7 separate regions of the Homo sapiens genome follow, and regions 1, 2, 3, 4, 5 and 7 are each linked to region 6. The links are contacts of gene promoters, found by promoter capture Hi-C in blood cells and fetal thymus (Javierre and others, 2016). All regions are on one chromosome and are shown on one strand. Each heading gives the region's core, a stretch centred on a gene start or on the middle of the fragment in contact. The rest is flanking DNA. Distances are from core to core; before and after follow the strand shown. Region 1 overlaps LOC124901363 (a long non-coding RNA gene). Region 2 overlaps TENT5A (terminal nucleotidyltransferase 5A). Region 3 overlaps MDN1-AS1 (MDN1 antisense RNA 1). Region 4 overlaps RRAGD (Ras related GTP binding D). Region 5 has its middle 9.3 kb from the start of ANKRD6. Region 6 holds the start of SNHG5 (small nucleolar RNA host gene 5). Region 7 holds the start of MDN1 (midasin AAA ATPase 1).

Region 1 (2,773 bases), core at 105-2,604, 4.9 Mb after region 6:
GCTTTATCATAATATACATATGTGCATCTCATCTCTCCATCCATATTTACATCCATCTACCATTTTGCTAGATGCATTTCAAAGTGAATTGATTACATGATTTTGAATATCTTCTACCCCAACACTTCTATGTTTTATCCACTGATTTGGACTTCTAATATTGATGCCAGTCTAAAATCAATTTTTGTCCAACTTGCTTGCAGATTACTTTTTTCTTTTTTGTCTGCCTGCGCCTTTTCCCTAGCTTCTAGTAATAGATGGAAAGTTTCATCAGTGTTTATGTCTCTGGGTTCAGTCATTCCCAAGGTCCAATCCATCTCTTACATTCTGTGATTTGGTTATGTGAGCTAGTAAATTACCATTTCATTTAAGCTGGTCCAAGTTGTATTTTTGTCACTTGTAACCAAATAATCCTAAGTAATAAAGTTTAAATGCAGAGGAATGATGGAGGGGAGCTGAACCTCTCTCAGTTCACTTCAATTTTGACTTTGCATTTCCTTTAACTTTCATGAATTAAGGATAGAAACTTGACCTCAGAATTTCATGTCAACTTCAGTCACCAGTCTGTGTGTCTCCACACGTTTCCGGATACATATCAAAACTATTTAAGTAAATTCCTTGAAGTCCCTCCGAGTTTGAGCACCCTCCACCATTCTCCCTCATGTCAGCACCCTAATAACTACTCTCTAACTTCCAACTCTGTCTTCAATTTTGGCCCTTTTATACTCTCCAGGGGTTGAGAGGACAAGGGTTTCAAAATCCATTTCCCACCACCTCTTTGCTTGTTCTAAATGAGATTCTGATCTTATTTGGCTCATTTTGGGTGTAGGGATATCTGGGACCTATTTTAATGGAGGCTTAGCAGAAACTGGGACTAAAGTAACACCACTTTAATGTTCTGGGTCATATATATGTCAGACAAGTGTTCCATATTTCCATCATAGGCTTGATGATAACATCAATAATTGAGTTTCCATTATTCTCTTCTGCCTTTTGTGGTATTTGCTATATTCTACAATAGTGTTTTTCAATCTTTTTTTTCATTATTGTTCTTTTAAGGAGCCTTTTTAGACATCTTAATGCCCCTCCTCAAAGTTTTAATACCTCAGATACACTGTATATCTATTTATGTATTGTATGTATATTTGTGCTTTCTATGTAAAAAGAGTAAGATTTTTTCTCTCTCCAGTTTTTGCCCCCTGTGGAGGTGTTATTGCCTCCATTGAGAATGCATGTACTAGCAGTTTCATTTTTCACATGACACATCACAAAGTACAACCGAGAGCATCTCTTGGTAGCCATCTCAGAAGAGCAGTTAAACATTCTTTTTCAAAAGCCCTTGGTAAGTTTACCCTTGAGGGATGGGGAACAGGATGCTTGAGGATACACACAGTCATGCGCTGCATAACGATTTTTTGGTCAATGGACCTCATATGTGACAGTGGTCCTATATGATTATAATGAAGCTGAAAAAATCCTATTGGCTAGTGACATTGTAGCCATAGTAATGTCATAGCATGACACATTACTTATAGTGCATTACTCGTGTTTGTGGTGATACTGGTGTAAACAAACTTATGCTGCTAGTCATACAAAAGTATAATACAATTATGTGCAGTGCATAATATTGATAATGATAAACAACTATGTTACTGGTTTATATAATTACTATACTATACTTTTTAATTGTTATTTTACAGTGTACTCCTACTTCCATAAAAAAACTATAAAACAGCCTCAGGCAGGTCCTTCAGGAGGTATTCCAGAAGAAGGCATTGTTATCATAAGAGATGACTGCTCCGTGCGTGTTATTGCCCCTGAAGACTTTCTGGTGGGACAAGATGTGGAGGTGGAAGATAGTGATGTTGATGATCCTGACCCTGTGTAGGTAGACCTAGGCCAACATATGTTTGTCTTACTTTTTAGCCAAAACGTTTAAAAACTATAAAAAAATAAATAAACAGAAAAAAGTGTATAGAATAAGGATCCAAATAAAATACTTTTGTACAGCTGTTCAGTGTGTTTGTGTTTTAAAGCTAAGTGTTATTACAAAAGAGTCAAAAAGTTTTAAAAAATTTAAAAGTTTATGAAGTAAAAGAGTTATAATAAGCTAAGGTTAATTTATTGTTGAAGAAAACTTTTAAAAAATAAATTTAGTGTAACCCAAGAGTACAGTGTTTATAAAGTCTACAGTAGTGTACAGTAATGTTCTAGGCCTTCGCATTCACTCACCAGTCACTCACTGGCTCACCCAGAGTAACTTCCAGTCTTGCAAACTCCATTTATGGTGAGTGCCCTATATAGGTGTACCATTTTTTTAAATCTTTTATATTGTTTCGTTACTGTACCTTTTCTATGTTTAGATACACAAATACCATTGTGTTACATTTGCCTGCAGTATTCAGTATAGTAACATGGTTTATACAGCTTGTAGCCTAGGAACAGGTATAGCTGTTATATACCTAGGTATACCATATAGCCTAGGTGTATAGTAGGCTATGTCATCTTGTAATGATATAAGTATATAATGTTTGTATAAGTACACTCTATGATGTTCACATAATGGTGGAATTGCCGATCAACACACTTCTCAAAACTTATCCCTGTAGTTAAGCAATGCATGACTGTACGTTGTTTAACTTAGATTGAGGGCTCCTGGAAACATGGGCTCTAAGGAGGAGGAGGAGATGCTAACCCGAAGGAAAATCTTAATACTCTTAGGAACAGCAAAGCAGGCAATGGTTGATGGGTGGTGGGTATGCAACCAGCAAAT
Region 2 (2,700 bases), core at 154-2,653, 3.9 Mb before region 6:
CCTCCCAAGTAGCGGGACTATGGGCATGCACCACCACATCCAGCTAATTTTTGCATTTTTAGTAGAGACGAGGTTTCACCATGTTGGCCAGGATGGTCCCGATCTCTTGACCTCGTGATCCTCCCGCCTCAGCCTCCCAAAGTGCTGGGATTACAGGCATGAGCCACCATGCCCGGCCAGTCTTCATTTTTAAATAAACTTTTTATGTGAGAATACTTTTATTTTTAAAAAGTGATGATATAGAAAGTTCCTATATACCCCATACCCAGTTTCTCCTTTTGTCGACATCATACTACATGTTACAACTAATGAGCTGATATTGAACCATTATTATTTCAATAATGCTTGCTTCAGATTTCCTTAGATTTTACCAAGTGCTCTTTTCTGTTGCCAGACCCCACCAGGATCCCACATTACACTTAAGTCATATGTCTCTTTAGGCTCCTCTTGGCAATGGCAGTTTTCACACTTTCTTTGTTTTAATAATTTAAGGAATACTGGTCCAGTATTTTACAGAATGCCCCACAATTTAGTTTTGGATGATGCTGTTCTCAAGATTTGGCAGGTTTTAGAGTGTTGAGGAAAAAACCACAGAGGTGAAGTGCCATTCTTATCACATCACAACAAGGGCACATACTATCATCATGACTTGTCACTACTTATGTTGGCCTTGATCAGCTGGCTGAGGTAGTGTTTGTTCGGTTTTTGCAATGGTACAGTACTCTTCTTTTTCCCTTTTCCAGATTGTAATCTTTGGACATAAGTCACTATGCACAGCCTACACTTAAGAGGTGGGTAGTTAACCTCCACCTCCTTGAAGGGCCAATATCTACATTGATTATTTGGAATCCTGCACAGTAAATTTCTTTCCCTCCATTTGTTCATTCAATCATTTATTTATATCAGTGTGAATGCATGGATACTTTACTCGTTGTGTTATAATCCATTACTATTTATTTTGTTGCTTAAATTGTTCCAGCTTTGGCTATTGGAGCTCTTTCAGTTAGCTCCTATGTCCCTTTGACATACCCCTGCCACCCTCATCATTATGATTTTTATCTTTTTTTTATGCTTTCTCAAGGCACCACAAGATGCTTCAGGCTTCTCTTATATATTTCCTGCTCCAGACATAGATTCAACTTCTAGTTCCTTTTATTGGAGAATGGCATTAGAAACCAAGATCTGAGTCATGCTAGGTAAAAGCCACTGTCATTTTAAAATCATTTCTCCTCCCTCGGTCCTACGTGATGTATTTGCTATTAGACTGAAGGATACTGTGTTCATATTGTTGATCTCAAACTTGGTCCTTTAAAGAAAATTAGAGTTTAATTTTGGAATTACTTGATTTTAACAAACCTTATTCTACTTTATATTTAAAAACTATGATATTAATTTATTTTTCTTTTTTGGTATATTTTGTTCTTTCTTTTTCTTACTAAAGGAATTAGAAGTTTAGGGAATGAGGTTACTAAGGAAAGGAAGGGTGGATTACTTCTCTCCAGGCTCAGCTAGGAGGGGCAGCCTAGTAATTCAACTAGAAATGGCAGGGTATATCTAAGCCTAGGAGAAGTTTAATATATACTGCTCTTATTCAACCATTGTTTAAAAATAATTATGTGGTGACCACAGACATATGAGGAACTGGCTGTAGAATGAAGAGGCTGCAACAAAGGAAGAAGAAAATGACACACAAATACCATTATCAAACCAAATAACCACCTTGTATTTTTATGATGCACTGTATACGGGAAGGAAGCTGGTTTTCAATGCCAAGAGTTGCTCTTTCACAGACTCGGTGTCAAGCATGCATTCTATTCAAGATCAAGACTTTAAGTGGTTTTTACAACCACATGTATATCCTATAGTAGCCTGGGCTTACCAAATTCTCATACTACTAGCATTGAGACCATCTCCAAAATTACACTAAGAAAAATTTTAATTAATACATAAATGTATGCCCCCTAGCAATTTGAATAGGTGAGGTTACATTAAATGCTAGACAAAAGGGTGATTTCCTTGCACCCAACACACACACACACACACACACACACACACACACACACAGAACATACTAGATCTTTTGATTGCTCTTCCTTCTCTATACTTCCTCTTTCAATTCCTGGCCACCAATTCCTCTCACCCCAACGTAAAAACTCTGAATAACACTATAGAGCCTCGAACAGAATCTATATAACCACTGATGAAATCACAGCCCTAAGGCTACTCAGGAAGACCAAGGCTCACGCAGAGCTACTAGAGCCCTACAGCCTACTAGAGCCATGAGTCTCTACTGATATCGGAAAACAGTTCTGACTTCTGGTCACTTAACACTGCTAAATTGATACCCAGACAAAAAAATTGTTGGCATCTATTAGCTAGATGCTTTTGGAGCTAACTGAGCCAGTCAGAGATGGGCTGACTGACAGCTGGATGTTTTCATTTATTGTGCTTCAATCAGAAAGTGGCTGAAGGCTACTCTTCTCTATGTACCGCTCTGCCTTTTCTAAAGGACGTGGGTTGGGATTCAAAGGACATGGTCTTTAGTCAATACAGACATTGTAGACAGCAAACACAAATCAATAGAAAAAAATAACTTTTTTATTTACAAAAAAATCCAAATATTGGATGCTGTAAACAAAATTCACAATCTGTTCCCTCTAGCACTGATTCAAACATGTCAGTTTTTTAGTCCATTTTCCA
Region 3 (2,856 bases), core at 176-2,675, 4.0 Mb after region 6:
GCGCTGGCCGAAGTTTTCTCGTCGGTAAAATAGGATAACAGTGCACCATAGGGTCGTTTTGATAAAGAAGAAAGGTAGGGCACTTAACACAGTTCCTGGTAAAGAGAGTTCAAATGAAAGTGAAGGAGGCCGGGCGCGGTGGCTCTCACCTGCAGTCCCAAGCACTCTGGGAGGCCTGTAAGGTGCCTGTAATCCCAGCTCCTCGGGATGCTGAGGCAGGAGAATCGCTTGAACCCGAGAAGTGAAGGTTGCAGTGATCCGAGATCGCACCACTGCACTCCATCCTGGGCGACAGAGCGAGACCCTGTCTCGAAAAAAAAGTTAAGGTTTTTTTGGGGGAAAGAGGTGAAAACGTATTTAAATGTTCTTTCGAGCCTTTAAAAATGTGTATAGTTGAAAATACTAAAATTGAAAGTGTTAATTTCTTTTACAGTTTGTGTTGGTTTTTTCTCTTTCTCGTTTTTGTCCTGTTCTTTTGTAGCGCAAAGGTTTTCCGGGAGCGGTGGCCTTCATGATCATTTGAAACAAAGCTTTGAATGGCTCACCCACTTCAGTCTTAAGCACTTTTCATCACTAATAACGAGGAGCCTAACATCCCTAAGCCTCAGGCTTTTGCTTTTATTTCCTTATAGTTGTTTTATCTTTCCCACAATACACATGCCTTTGGGTTAAATCACTAGAAGTGGAGTTAGCGAATCTTTGCCATATTAATTTTCCAAGTGGTGTTGTATCGAATTAAAATAGAACGAAAAATGTTCAATTACTAGTTTACTGGGGACTTGCTTGCCTCGCCTGTTAGCATCCTGGGGCTCCCTATTCCTAGCTGTGTTCTGGCTATTTCCCCTCTCCTGGCCTATTACCTCCCCTGTAAAGTGAAATATAGCATCTACCTCAGTTGTGTATCTCTAATGTACTGAGAACAGGTCCTGGCACATGTAAGAACTCTAATCATTAGCTCTTTTGAACTTTACCAGGCATTGTATGAATGATGCTAACTGCATGATCATATTATCAATAATATATGCCAAATTTTGTCTAATACATTAGCTGTAATAGTTAATTGCTAACTTTTTAAAAGGAGTGAAGTTAAATACCCCTCGCCATTTTTAGTTATACTGTTTTTGTGAATTGTTCATGACTTGGGTCCGTTTATGATGAGGACATTTATATGGGCTCTATATTTTTTGTCATTTCTTTATACATACAGAAACTTTATACAATCATGTATTTTTGTGCCTTTTGAGGCTTTTCATTTCCCATTCAGGCCTTTGTAATTCGTTTTTTAAAAACTTTAATTTTTAAAATATTTACTCCATCTAGAATTTACTTTGGTTTACAGCATCACGTGGATCTAAGTTCTTTTCTAGATGTTAAGCTGTATCAATACCATTGATTACATAACTCATTCCTTTTTCGGGGCTTTATGATGGATGCCTTTTTGACTGTATGATAAATTCTTTTAGGGTCTGAGTAATCTGTCCAGAATTGTTTCATTTAGGGTTAAGTTTTTACTTTTTGTTTTATATGTTTTTATTATCTGGCAGGACTCTAGTTTCTTGTAAAAAATCCATTAGTACTGTTCTCTATAATCTTTAGAAATGTTTTGTATCATTTCCCTCCAAATCATCTTGTGATCTTGGTTGGAATTTTGAAGTAGTGTTGAATCTATACATTAATATGTGAGAAAGACATTTTTACATTATTTCTTCTTCCCATCAAGAAACACTCAGGCCAGGTGCGGTGGCTCATGCCTATAATCCCAACACTTTGGGATACCGAGGTGGATCACCTGAGGTCAGGAGTTCGAGACCAGCCTGGCCAACATGGTGAAACCTCGTCTCTACTAAAATACAAAAAATTAGCCGGGCCTGGTGGCGCACGCCTGTGGTCCCAGCTACTTGGGAGGCTCAGGCAGGAGAATCGCTTGAACCTGGGAGACGGAGGTTGCAGTGAGCCGAGATTGCGCCATTGCACTCCAGCCTGGGCAACAAGAGCAAAGCTCTATTTAAAAAAAAAAAAAAAAAAAAAAAAGGGCTCACTCTTGCTAGACACTGGTAATGCTGTCGTGAGTCACATATGCTCCTTGCTCAAAGACTCATGCTTTGGGCAGGAAAACCTCTAAGTTCAATATAGTGCTAACAAAGAATGCTGCAGTTCATACTGTGGGAAATTATTCTTCCTGGAGGGCTTGTCTGAGCTAGGTATTTGTCAGAAACGCAGAATCACTAAGAGGATTCCAGACAACACATGGAAACACTGGCAGGAATGCTGGGAGAGGAGGGACAGGAGAGTCAAGCAAGAGCCTCACAGGTCACATGAAGAAGCTTGAATATTACCCTCTTCACAAGGGAGAGCTTTGAAGGGATTTTCAGCTACAGAACTTTTAGAAAGATCTTGGATGTTGTGAATAGGATGAAGTGAAGCAAGCAAAGAGAAGTTACTGGCCTGGCCAGGATACCATTGAAGTAGTCCCTGCTAGAGATTAAAAGAGTCCCAGTCACAGTGCAGTAGGGGGAGGGGGAGGGATGGGACAGGATATCCAGAAGCCTGACTGGACAAGATGATTAATTAATTTGATTGGGGTATGGATAGAGATGGAGAAGGAAGTAAAGCAGATGTATAGGTTAAGTCCCAAGTTTGTAAACAGGGTGGCTGTTGGAGTGGTCATCCCAGATGGGGAATGTTGAAGGAATGGGTTTGGAATAGGGGAATTAGAACACAGTGACATCCAGCAGATGTCTGAATATAATTAAGAATACCAAAGAGTAGATTTCCTGGACCCCTGGATGGAGAATTTTACAGTCCTTTTGCTTCAGTGATGGTGGAGGCCACGGGAGTGGTGAAGAAGTTATCCAA
Region 4 (2,700 bases), core at 110-2,609, 3.7 Mb after region 6:
ACATTCTTGAAAGCAATGGCTTAACAATGGTTATTAAGTGATGTACTGCTTAAAGTAAAACATGGACTATACCTGATTACAAATTACATCCAGTCTGTACAAGTTGAATACATACCATACTTTAATAACCAAGACAATTCAGCTGTTTTTCCAGAGTATATTTCAAACAGAGTTGGCATATAACCCGTATGTAACAATATTGCTGTGATTTTAGTCATATTTAAGGGTCCAAAATATGTTCACAAAAGAACAGTTTGTGAATGTCAACCAGTTTTTGCTTTATATTCCTTCAAAAACATTCCACCCTGGTCATTCACACTAATCTACATCACTGAAAATAACCAAAATAATTCACAGTCTCACCTCTATGTAAAAATTCTAATTGACTCAACAGGGAAAGGACTGCCCTGCTCCTTTTGAGGAAGGAAACCTGCAAGGCAAGTTCTCAATCCCTAAAACCAAGCAAAAATGTTCCAGTGCAGTTGCTGTAGCCATGTATTTAGGATTTGTATTTATAGAATTAAATTTGAGAATGAAACATGGCCATACACATCGCAATAAGCTGCCTCTCATATCAAAAATACAATGCAAAATGACTTGAAGACATTTCCAATAACACAGATTTGAAAAACTGAACGCTTAGACATAACTCCTGCATCTTTCTTTAATTAAGAAGTCATTGCCACACTTACAAAGTTAGAGGCAGTAATCTATATTAGCGTGTGATTAATCAAAGAGTACACTTACTACCATGAACTTGGGCCCTATGTCATAGAATTATTTTTGCCTTTCCCCCAAAGAATCATTTGCTCTTGAAGTAATAGGCTTTTTAAGGCACATTTTAACAAAAACCCATCATATACCCAGCTTAAACATGGAAGCTCCAACCTGGTTATAGTAATAAATATACCTAAGTAATGTGTGATTTACCAAATAGGCTAGTGTCTCTAGCTTGAGGATAAAGTCATATTAGAAAACTGATTCTTCATTTGCTTATTCAAAGTGAAACAACATGTAAAAAATATTAGAGAATTAGATTTATAACAATAACCCCTAAGTGTCAGGTCTGTTGGCAAAGGTCCAACAGGATATAGCTCTGGAAATCAGGGAGCCCTGGGCTCCTAACCATCCAGGTTTCGGAGTAGGAATCATGAGGAAAGGAGTTAGGGCACCTTAATTATTTTTAGAAATCTCCTTTCAAAATGCACAGAACCTTGGGAGGCTCAAACCTTAAACACCAACCAGATATCATCTTAAATTCAGTTACCAGCTTCAAAGAAACAGGACTTGGGGAGAGGAAGGAGAGAGGTTGGAAAGAAGCCACAGAGAGAAGTGGGAAAGTTTAGGCTGGGCACAGTAGCTCAGGCCTGTAATCTCAGCATTTGAGGAGGCCAAGGCAGGAGGATTGCTTGGGGCCAGGAGTTTGAGACCATCTTGGGCAACACAGTGAGATCCTGTCTCTACAAAAACAAAATTTAAGAATTAGCCGGGCGTGGTTGTGCACACCTGTAGTTCTAGCTACTAGGGAGGCTGAGGTGGAAGGATCCCTTGAGCCCAAGAGGTAACAGTGAGCTATGATTGTACCAATGTATTCCAGCACAAGCAACAGAATGAGGCCCCCCTCTAAAAAAAAAAAAAAAAAAAGTTTCAAGTATAAGTTGCTTTAGGGACTTTATATATTTTGCTAGGACCAACTTTGATGTTCTTAGGAGGCTCTGCTTTAAAAAAAAAAAAATCTCATTTTCTAATGCCCCACAAGCATGCCTTAGGGTGCTAACCCTTGAGATGCACGTAAAATTATCTACTTGGAATGATTTGGCATAGGGGTAGATTTAGGACTCTTAATTTCCTGTTAGTCTAAAGTAAACATAAGTGAAATAATTTCACAGAAACAATTACACAGCTAATTGTAATGTCTCTCCAGCCATCCTTTTCCCACTGACCTTTAGGGGTCTTCAGGATGACTCTTCAGCCTTGCAGAGCATGCTGGTGGCAGGCTGAGCTTGGCTTAATCATAAGGTGGGAACAAGTGGAGTACATGAGGCATGTTATCACCAGTGAGAAGGAGATGTGGAGGTGACAAAAGTGACTAACAGGATTGAGCTCCATGGTGGGGTTCTGCGATTTGTTCTATTCACTATGGTCATGGAGCAATAAAGAACTGGTCCTGAATAAGCATTTTAAATGCAGCACACCAGACCATCGCACAGGGCCAAAAGTCCAGAATTGTATCTATGTTTTTTAGTCTGCAGTTGCCAATCACATACTTTTGGAACAACTTTAGGCCTCTGATGTTACTTTAGCCCTGGGTGGTAGGTACAGAAAAGCCTCCAGAAACCCTACAATTCAGTGACATTCTTACTTCTCTCCAGTGTTCGGCACCATTTTGGAAATCTGGTCCCAAAGTTTCAAAAGAATACTAATGCAACAAAAAGAAATAACCTCTCTGTATAAAGTGATTATAGAGATGTGTGTTGAGGTAAACAGCTTCATAAAAACCGTTGAGCAGGGAAGCACAGCCACTGCTATAGAAATTTTTAGGTAAGTCTGGTGCTAGCATTATTCTACAAAACTGTTTACACCCATTATAAATAGGGGACAGTTCTTATTGCTCCTGGAGCTTGTAGCTCCAATCTGTTCCAGCTCCACTGAAAAATGATTTTTCTCAACAATTGGTAGCAAAGATTTCCAAATTTACAA
Region 5 (2,700 bases), core at 92-2,591, 3.7 Mb after region 6:
CATAGCCTTTCACAGACCCAGTTTGGACATAGCCATAGCCTTCTGTGCCTTCTTTTCTTTTCTTTCTTTCTGTCTTTTGAGACGGAGTTTCACTCTGTCGCCCAGGCTGGAGTGCAGTGGTGCAATCTCAGCTCACTGCAACCTCTGCCTCCTGAGTTCAAGTGATTCTCCTGCCTCAGCCTCCTGAGTATCTGGGATTACAGGAACGTGCCACCATACTTGGCTAACTTTTGTATTTTTAGTACAAATACTAGACTAGTACTTAGACTAGAGATGGGGTTTCACCATGTTGCCCAGGCTGGTCTCGAACTCCTGACCTCAAGTGATCTATCTGCCTCGGCCTCCCAAAGTGCTGGGATTACAGCTGTGAGCCACCGTGCCTGGCTATGTGCCTACCCTTCACTCTGACTGTGTTTTGCTTTCTTGACTGGTTCTTCATCAAATGCGGCTGCTGCTGCCACCTGGGCTTATTCTGTGGAATTTTGTTCCTTGAGTTCTGGTACTGATTCTTCACTGCAAGATTCAGTGCCAGACCTGTGCAGGGAATATAAAGATGGCAGCAGAAAGAGCCCACACTTCTTATTTCAGGAGAAAATTATAAGTCTATTCCTTAAGCTAGTGCTTCCCCACCTTCTATGGTAATGGCACACATAGAAAATGATACTATTTGGACCTAAGCGGTGGCTCACTCCTATAATTCCAGCTCTTTGGAAGACTGAGGTGGGAGGATTGCTTGAACAGGAGTTTAAGACCAACCTGGGCAATATAGCAAAACTCCCATCTCTACAAAGAAATTTAAAAATTGGCTGAGGCAGGAGGATTTCTTGAGCCCAAGAGTTCGAGGCCACAGTGAGCTATGATCGCACCACTGCATTCCAGCCTGAGCAACAGAACAAGACCCCATCTCTTACAAGAAAAGAAAAAAGAAAGATACTATTTGTATGGTACAATTCTGTGTAAATGGACAGGCTACTTACAGCCAGAGGTGACTGGCCTGAAGACTTTAGTCACCCTCAGGCCTTGCCTAGCTGCCCTAAAGGCTGAGGGGATCAAAAACTTGGCCATACCTGTAAGCCATTTATGGCACCCAAGTGGTGGTGGCGAACCAGTTGGGAAGTTCAGCTTAAGCCATGTGGATGGGGTGCTCTAAACTTTGCAGCAACTGACACAATATATATCCTTTATGAGTGGAGAGAAGAAAGGATGGATGAACTTGATCATATACTTGGTGATGAAATTCAGGAGTCATATCATATTCAAAGGATCCTGGTAAAGGTGTCTCTGGATATTACAGGAGACAATTGAGACTCCTCAAGAAAGGGACCATGGCTGGGTGCGGTGGCTCATCCCTATAATCCCAGCACTTTGTGAGGCCAAGGCAAGAGGATCACTTGAAGTCAGGAGTTCAAGACCAGCCTGAGCAACAAAACAAGACTCTATCTCTACCAAAAATAAAAAATAAAATTACCTAGACACGGTGGCATGTGCCTGTAATCCCAGCTACTTGGGAGGCAGAGGCGGAAGAATCACTTGAGCCCAGGAGTTTGTGGCTGCAGTAAGCTACAACGGCACCACTGCGCTCTAGTGTAGGTGACAGAGAGTAAGACCCTGTCTCAAAAAACGCTGGAGGGGGGACCTTGCTTTTACTTCTCTCTGCACTTCTCCCTTTATTCTTCTCTCTCTGCATGAAAATTGGCTTTCTGTGCTTTTCCTACCAGAGGGCAGGAGACAGCTGCCCCACCCTCCTGGTCCCAGTGATAGTGGGCCCATCCTCTGGAATCAGGCTTCCTAGGTTTAAATCCTAACTCCATCCTTAGTATCTGTGTGACCTGTAGCAAGTTACTTAACCTCTCTGTGCCTCAATTTACTCATCTCTAAACTACTGATAATGTAACATACCTCAGTAGGGTTGTGGGAAGGAATTAAATCCATTAAACTATATAAAATAATTTAGGACCATGTATTACTCTGTTTTCGTGCTGCTGATAAAGACATACCTGAGACTGGGCAATTTTACAAAAGAAGGAGGTTTAATTGGGCTTACAGTTCCACGTGGCTGGAGAAGCCTCACAATCATGGTGGAAGGCAAGGAGGAGCAAGTCCTGTCTTACATGGATGGCAGCAGGCAAGGAGAGAATGAGGAAGACGCAAAAGCAGAAACCCTTGATAAAACCATCAGATCTTATGAGACTTATTCACTAACACAAGAACAGTATGGGGAAACCACCCCCATGATTCAATTATCTCCCACTGGGCCCCTCCCACAACACGTGGGAATTATGGGAGTACAATTCAAAATGAGATTTGGGTGGGGACACAGAGCCAAACCATATCAGACAGTAAGCACTATATAAGTGTTAGCTATTATTATCTTTAATTCCCAGGCAAGAAAATCTGATTGGCTGAGTTTGAGCCAGTGGTTCACTCCTGGCCTAATCCCCTAATTGTGCACTACATATCACTAGGTACTAGTCCTCTAGAGCATTTGTCTCAATTGTAATTTAAGATTTGATTGAGGACTGTATTCACAACTAGACTGTGGGACCATCTTCTTTTGTCCACCATTCTATTCTCAGTGCCTAGCACAGTAGCTATAATCTGGACGAAATATAATTGTACTGTATACCACTTACATTGTACTTTATGTGCAGCATATATATATATATACATAAATAGCTTGATGGTGGTCAAGTCCCGATA
Region 6 (2,700 bases), core at 2-2,501:
AGCGACCCTCACTGTTGGCAGAAAAAAAAAAAACCCAGGATTTTATAACACAACTGTTATAAAATCACGGCAACAAAATTTACTCCACCTCTGAATTACTGGTCTTAATCTCAGAAGCCGAATCCGTACTTATTTTTCTTCAGGTTATCAGCTTCGGGATAGGTTTCATCATTGATTAGACCAATCAGACCTTGTATATGTACACATAATACATTAAACTGCACTTCTGTGACACTGACTACAAACCAAGGTAATGCTAAAAGGCAAGTATTATAGTACAAATACTACAGAACTTTTAAGCCATACAACCTACTTCAAAATGAAGCTGCTAGTCAGTCACATTCGACATTCATTATCTTCACTGGCTACTCGTCCACACTCAGAACGCTGTTCACTGACAAAAAAAATTTGATTTAGTCTAGGTGTGGATTAAATGCTATGCTCAATCATAAAGTACTAAAACAACACATACCTGTTAAAAGTGTCAGGTTTTAACCAAGCGATTTTCCATTAAATATTCTCCCAGATGTTCTGGAAGTTTTTTCGTGTATCTAACAAAAAAAAGTAAATTTCAAACGATGCAACAGTTCCTATTCCTGTAAATCAACAGGTTTACTCCTTTAGTTTGGAAACTAAGCTTAACTAAGCTCTTACCTTTGCATCTTCAGAGCTGCTCCACTGTGCCACTGAAGACAGCGCCATTGTTCCTGCGGGAAATCGGTATTTAAGCATTCTCGCAGAAATGTCACACTCCAAGGCGTTTTTCCACACAAAACCCTTCCCCTTCATTAATCCGAATTGCACACAACGCCGCCTTCGAACAGCTCAGTTTCAATACAGGGTCGAGGCTTCCCATTTTAAAACAACGCCGACGGAAGGCCTTCGCCATTTTAGTAAAGGCCCTTTGCTGTTAAAACTAACCCTCCGCCCCAATTAAGGTGGTTTTTCCGCCGCCGCTCAGGCACATGCCGGAGGCCAGCAAGTTCGGCGCCCGTGGCCGATCAGCGGTTCCTCACGCCAAAACTCGGAGCCTGTGGCCGTCACGACTCAACCTCAGTACATGTGGCAGTCCGGCCGCACGTTTCCCACGTGCAAGCTTTCAACTCTCAGCACTCTAAACTCTTCACTAAGATGTCTTCACAGGATTAAAGCTCTTAACTCGGCCTGCGCCACCATCTTTTGCTCGGATACTAGCCCGCAATACCCACTCACCTACCACCCGCCCAGACGCTCGCGAAGGCCGACGTAAAAGACCGAAGTGCGCAGCCAGTAGCTCCTTATATAGCCTCCCGGAGTCAGAACGAGGCCGTCCCGCCCTCTCGCACCTATTGGACATGGAAGTAGACAGGGGTGTGGTCGCGAATTAGCGGGAGCGCGCGCGGTGGCTCTTCTGAGGCCCGTTCCGCGTTGTGGAGCGCGCCGCAGGCCGGCCGCGCGCCCGGCCATTTCCCGGCGCGCGCCCGCAGGCGCACTGCGAAGCGTCTCTTACGAGTCTGGCGGCCGACTTGGCCCTACGTGGCGCGGGTGTGGCGCCAGAATTCAAACAGCTGCAGTTGGAAACGACGCTTTCGCCTGCCACGAGCCAAGTCCGTCCAGGACAGATTGGGTCCGAGAGTGGACACAAGTTTTGCAGCGCAGGGCGGCCTCAGCTTAGGACCGATTCGAGAAGCTGGGCTGGCTGGCTGGCTGGCGCTGGGCTGTAGTGGGCCCCCAGCGGAGGCCGCCGGAGGAGCGGGCGAGCCCTGGCCGCAGCACTCCGGGAAAGGGCAGTTGGCTGGCAGAAACGCTTGGGTGAAAAAGCGGAAAGCGCCACGTGAGAACAGCCCCGGCGTGCGGCCCTGCAGGGCCTCAGGGCGGGCATCAAGGCCCCATGGGGATCCATTCCTCCTCACGCTTCCTCGTGCCAGGCATCCGGTTACACTAAACGTGACCATACAAGTCTCCCTCAAACAGCGAACGTGAGGTTCAATACTCCATTTCGCAGAGGAGAAAACTGAGGCTTAAAACAGCCAGGTAATTTGCCTAAGGTCACACAGCTGAAATGCTTTGCTAATTTTTAACTTCTTTGTACTCAATTAGTTATATTGAAAACGAGAGAAAGATTAATTTGAGAAGTATCCCTGAATACTTTATCCAGACGACAAACACAAAATTCAAAAGCAGTGCTTTGATTAATTAGCATGTTCGAGTGAATATGTCTGCGTGTGTGTGTGTGCACACGACATTTGAACATTTCAGTATTTGAAAATTCAGGTCGTTCTTCACTTCTATATTTCAAAGCACTACTTATTAAAGTTGTTTATGTGTGCATTTGATTACGGTCCGATTCTGCTAGAGTGTGGGAGCAACACATCTGATTTCGTGCTCTGCTGTTTATTTTTTCTTAGAACAGTGCCTAGCATTAAGTAGGTTGTCGGTAATGGTTAAATGAATGAATGAATGAACAAATACATTCGGTGGCTTTTTAGAAAATTAGAATGAAGATCAAACTTCACATTCAAAGATAGTAGTGAAAAGCACTTTTCTCTAACAGGAACCTATATGATGAAGTATTGACTGGGCCGGGCATTTTGTCGGTTTTTGTATTACTTTGTAATGTCTTACATAAATTTGCATATTGCTCATAGTAAATAGTAAAACAAACAATACAGTACAAAAGGATATAAGAAGCAAAGTAGGCCGGGTGTGGTGGCTTATGTC
Region 7 (2,700 bases), core at 74-2,573, 4.1 Mb after region 6:
AAAAAAAAAATTTTTTTTTTAATTAGCCACACCTGGGACCCAAGTACCTGGGACCACACTCACCTGTCCCGTGGCTCACGCCTGTAATCCCAGCACTTTGGGAGGCTGAGGCGGGTGGATCACGAGGTCAAGAGATCGAGACCATCCTGGCCAACATGGTGAAACCCCGTCTCTACTAAAAATACAAAAAGTAGCTAGGCATGGTGGCGCTCGCCTGTAATCCCAGCTACTGAGAGGGTGAGGCAGGAGAATCGCCTGAACCCGGGAGGCGGAGGGTGCAGTAAGCCGAGATCGCGCCACTGCACTCCAGCCTGGCGACACAGCGAGACTCCGTCTCAAAAAAAAAAAAAAAGTGTCTTCAACTCAGATAGAAGGAGTCAATGAGAAGGTTCTTAAAAGCCCGAAGACCTATTTCCCAGAAAACTCTAATTAACCTTATAATTTGTATAGTTAGTTACAGTGAGTATGAGCTGTCTTGCTCTGTACTTCAGCTGTTGTAAGTGTTTACGAACTGTCTCCAAAAACAGATGCAAATTTCCCTCATGGCAGAGATCGTAACGAATTTATCTATCCACTTTCTCACAGCGCCACACCGTTCCTTACGCACAGCAGGAATGCAATCAGTATTTGTCGATGGTTCCCCAAACTAACAGGAGTGGCTGCACTACGCACACTTAGGTGATACGTACACTTGTCAAAACGGCAGAAACGCAACCTCAATTTCAGAAAAACAAACCACATTCCTTTGGGAAGGCCACCTCTGCCACAAGCAGCCAAAGCGCTTGCATAGGGGTGAGAGGCGATGGGAAGGGTACTGGAAGGCTCCCCCAGATAAAAACAAAAGACTCCTTCCAATCGCCTCAAACACGCTCGGAAACCTCCACGACCTGCGCCAGCCCACAGGAGGGGGCCAGCTTGACCTGAGGCTGCACCACTCCCCACTTAAAGCGGCGAGTATCGGCGGGGGAGCGCAGGAAGCTTACTAGTGGGGCGACCCAGTCGTTCCGGCGCTTTCCCTCTCCCTTCACGTCTTACCTGCTTGGCCAAGAACCTGCCCAACTCACTGCGGCTCTTCTCGTTCTTGGCTGCGATTAACCGCAGCGGCGCGGCTGCCACCTCCAGCAAGAAGTGCTCCATGACCCAGGGCCCTCACCCCGAGCGGCCACCTGCGCTCCCTACTTCGCGGCCAGCGTCCCCAAGCCGCCGAGGTCCCAGTGCCCGAGCAGCCAGCAACTACGCCCGCAGGAAAGGCGTCCTCAGCTCCAGCGCCTACACCGGGAGAGGGGCACCACACGTGGGTGAGCACACGGCGTTTGACGTCATCAGCTCGGGACGGCTACGCTGCGCCCTCCCGGCCTCAGCCCCTCAGCGGCGGAAACGCCAGTCTTCGCTGTCCCGCCTTTTCCGGGAGGGAAATGGAAACAAAAATCTAGTCGGTTTGGATGCAGGAGTGATGGGGACTCGCGAACACAGCACGTGGTGGGACAGAAAGAAGAGTGCGTTAGGCCGGGGAGGAAAGAGGGGGCGTGTGAGTCTCAGCCCACCGTGCCTTGCTTCTGCCTTAACACACGGAAAGATCAGATGTGAGAGAAAAGCTGATTCTCGGCCGGGCGCGGTGGCGCATGTCTTTATCCCAGCATTTTGGGAGGCCGAGGAGGGCAGATCACTTGAGGTTAGCAGTTCGAGACCAGCCTGGGCAACATGGTGAAACCCCCTTCTCTACTAAAAATACAAAAATTAGCCGGGCGTGGTGGCGCGCGCCTGTAGTCCCAGCTACTCGGGAGGCTGAGGCAGGAGAATCGCTTGAACCCGGGAGACGGAGGTTACAGTAAGCCGAGATCGTGCAGCTGCACTCCAGCCGCGCGACACAGCAGACTTTTACTGTCTCAAAAAAAGAAAGAAAAGCTGATTCTCCCCTTCTTGTTAGCGGTGGCAGTTACCCCCTGTATAGGTAGGGGTCAGCAGTAACCTTAGTTCTTGCCTCCTCAGAAGAAATAATTCCACGAAGGGCATAAGGCAGGATAGACCTAGACAAGTTTCAGAATAGAAGTAAAAGTTTATCAAAAAGCTTTAGAACGGGACGGAAAGAAAAGGAGGAAAGTACAACTTGGAAGACTGCCAAGCAGGCGACTTGAGAAACCAAGTGCGCAGCTTGACCTGTTGACTTGAAGTTTTATATGTTGGCATACTTTGGGGAACTTGCATTGCTTCTCCCCACTCCTGAGATCTTACTGGGAAGCTACTGATCAGTTTCAGGTGTTTTCTATTAGGAGACTGCCTTTCGCTGGCCCCGGTGAACGTTAGAGAAACAGTTAAGAACCGCCTGACCATCGTTTGATTGTCACCCAATAGTCCTGGTATGTGTGGGGTGGGGAGCGCTCTCCTGTTCTGCTCATACCTAACTAGTTAACATTCTGCCCCAGCAATTCCCCTTGTAGGACTCTAGCCTGCGGAAATCCTCACTAAGTGTGACAAAGACACCCCTTGCAGTTTTCTTAATACAGATATTGGAAGAAAATGTTCAATTGGGAATATTAAACTATGGGGTGTAAGTTATAGCATATTCTGGAAGTCATAAAAAATAGTAGAGTCCATAACATTAAAAGTGCACTTGTGGGCTGGGCGCAGTGGCTCAAGGCAAGGCAGGCAGATCACGAGATAAGGAGTTGGAGACCAGTCTGGCCAACATGGTGAAACCCT

Evidence for each region. The method cuts DNA at HindIII sites, captures the fragments that hold promoters and counts their contacts. A CHiCAGO score of 5 or more calls a contact.
Region 1: a contact is called between a fragment that was not itself captured here and the fragment with the promoter of SNHG5 in region 6, in 3 of 17 cell types (non-activated CD4 T cells, naive CD4 T cells and naive CD8 T cells). The highest score is 7.5, in non-activated CD4 T cells.
Region 2: a fragment that was not itself captured here is called in contact with the fragment with the promoter of SNHG5 in region 6 in 1 of 17 cell types (neutrophils); the score reaches 5.4 in neutrophils.
Region 3: a contact is called between a fragment that was not itself captured here and the fragment with the promoter of SNHG5 in region 6, in 3 of 17 cell types (naive CD8 T cells, neutrophils and non-activated CD4 T cells). The highest score is 8.4, in naive CD8 T cells.
Region 4: a fragment that was not itself captured here is called in contact with the fragment with the promoter of SNHG5 in region 6 in 1 of 17 cell types (neutrophils); the score reaches 5.4 in neutrophils.
Region 5: a contact is called between a fragment that was not itself captured here and the fragment with the promoter of SNHG5 in region 6, in 1 of 17 cell types (neutrophils). The highest score is 5.4, in neutrophils.
Region 7: the fragment with the promoter of MDN1 here is called in contact with the fragment with the promoter of SNHG5 in region 6 in 1 of 17 cell types (monocytes); the score reaches 8.5 in monocytes.

What each region holds. Positions count from the first base shown.
Region 1 is chr6:90,588,948-90,591,720 of GRCh38, forward strand. It overlaps LOC124901363 (a long non-coding RNA gene), which reads left to right. Exons shown (of 2, transcript XR_007059680.1): 2 at 1,701-2,012. Among named protein-coding and RNA genes, the nearest start is that of MAP3K7, 3.3 kb to the left of the region's middle. The HindIII fragment of the contact is 5,597 bases long and covers 1-2,773 here.
Region 2 is chr6:81,743,154-81,745,853 of GRCh38, forward strand. It overlaps TENT5A (terminal nucleotidyltransferase 5A), which reads right to left. Exons shown (of 3, transcript NM_017633.3): 3 at 2,577-2,700. Among named protein-coding and RNA genes, the nearest start is that of TENT5A, 8.2 kb to the right of the region's middle. The HindIII fragment of the contact is 3,387 bases long and covers 1-2,700 here.
Region 3 is chr6:89,638,865-89,641,720 of GRCh38, forward strand. All of the region lies in intron 1 of MDN1-AS1 (MDN1 antisense RNA 1), which reads left to right. Among named protein-coding and RNA genes, the nearest start is that of LYRM2, 1.5 kb to the left of the region's middle. The HindIII fragment of the contact is 1,794 bases long and covers 529-2,322 here.
Region 4 is chr6:89,364,901-89,367,600 of GRCh38, forward strand. RRAGD (Ras related GTP binding D) reads right to left here. Exons shown (of 7, transcript NM_021244.5): 7 at 1-2,700. Among named protein-coding and RNA genes, the nearest start is that of UBE2J1, 14 kb to the left of the region's middle. The HindIII fragment of the contact is 2,876 bases long and covers 1-2,700 here.
Region 5 is chr6:89,422,489-89,425,188 of GRCh38, forward strand. It overlaps the pseudogene NACAP7. Among named protein-coding and RNA genes, the nearest start is that of ANKRD6, 9.3 kb to the right of the region's middle. The HindIII fragment of the contact is 5,077 bases long and covers 1-2,700 here.
Region 6 is chr6:85,677,482-85,680,181 of GRCh38, forward strand. It overlaps SNHG5 (small nucleolar RNA host gene 5), which reads right to left and starts at 1,252. Exons shown (of 6, transcript NR_003038.2): 1 at 1,213-1,252; 2 at 655-707; 3 at 473-551; 4 at 314-394; 5 at 1-11. SNORD50B (small nucleolar RNA, C/D box 50B) reads right to left here and starts at 178; the gene lies at 108-178. RefSeq lists enhancers at 833-892, 1,063-1,222. The HindIII fragment of the contact is 13,479 bases long and covers 1,095-2,700 here.
Region 7 is chr6:89,818,471-89,821,170 of GRCh38, forward strand. It overlaps MDN1 (midasin AAA ATPase 1), which reads right to left and starts at 1,324. Exons shown (of 102, transcript NM_014611.3): 1 at 1,036-1,324. The coding sequence starts at 1,137. RefSeq lists enhancers at 1-401, 978-1,367, 1,022-1,641, 1,642-2,261. The HindIII fragment of the contact is 1,090 bases long and covers 977-2,066 here.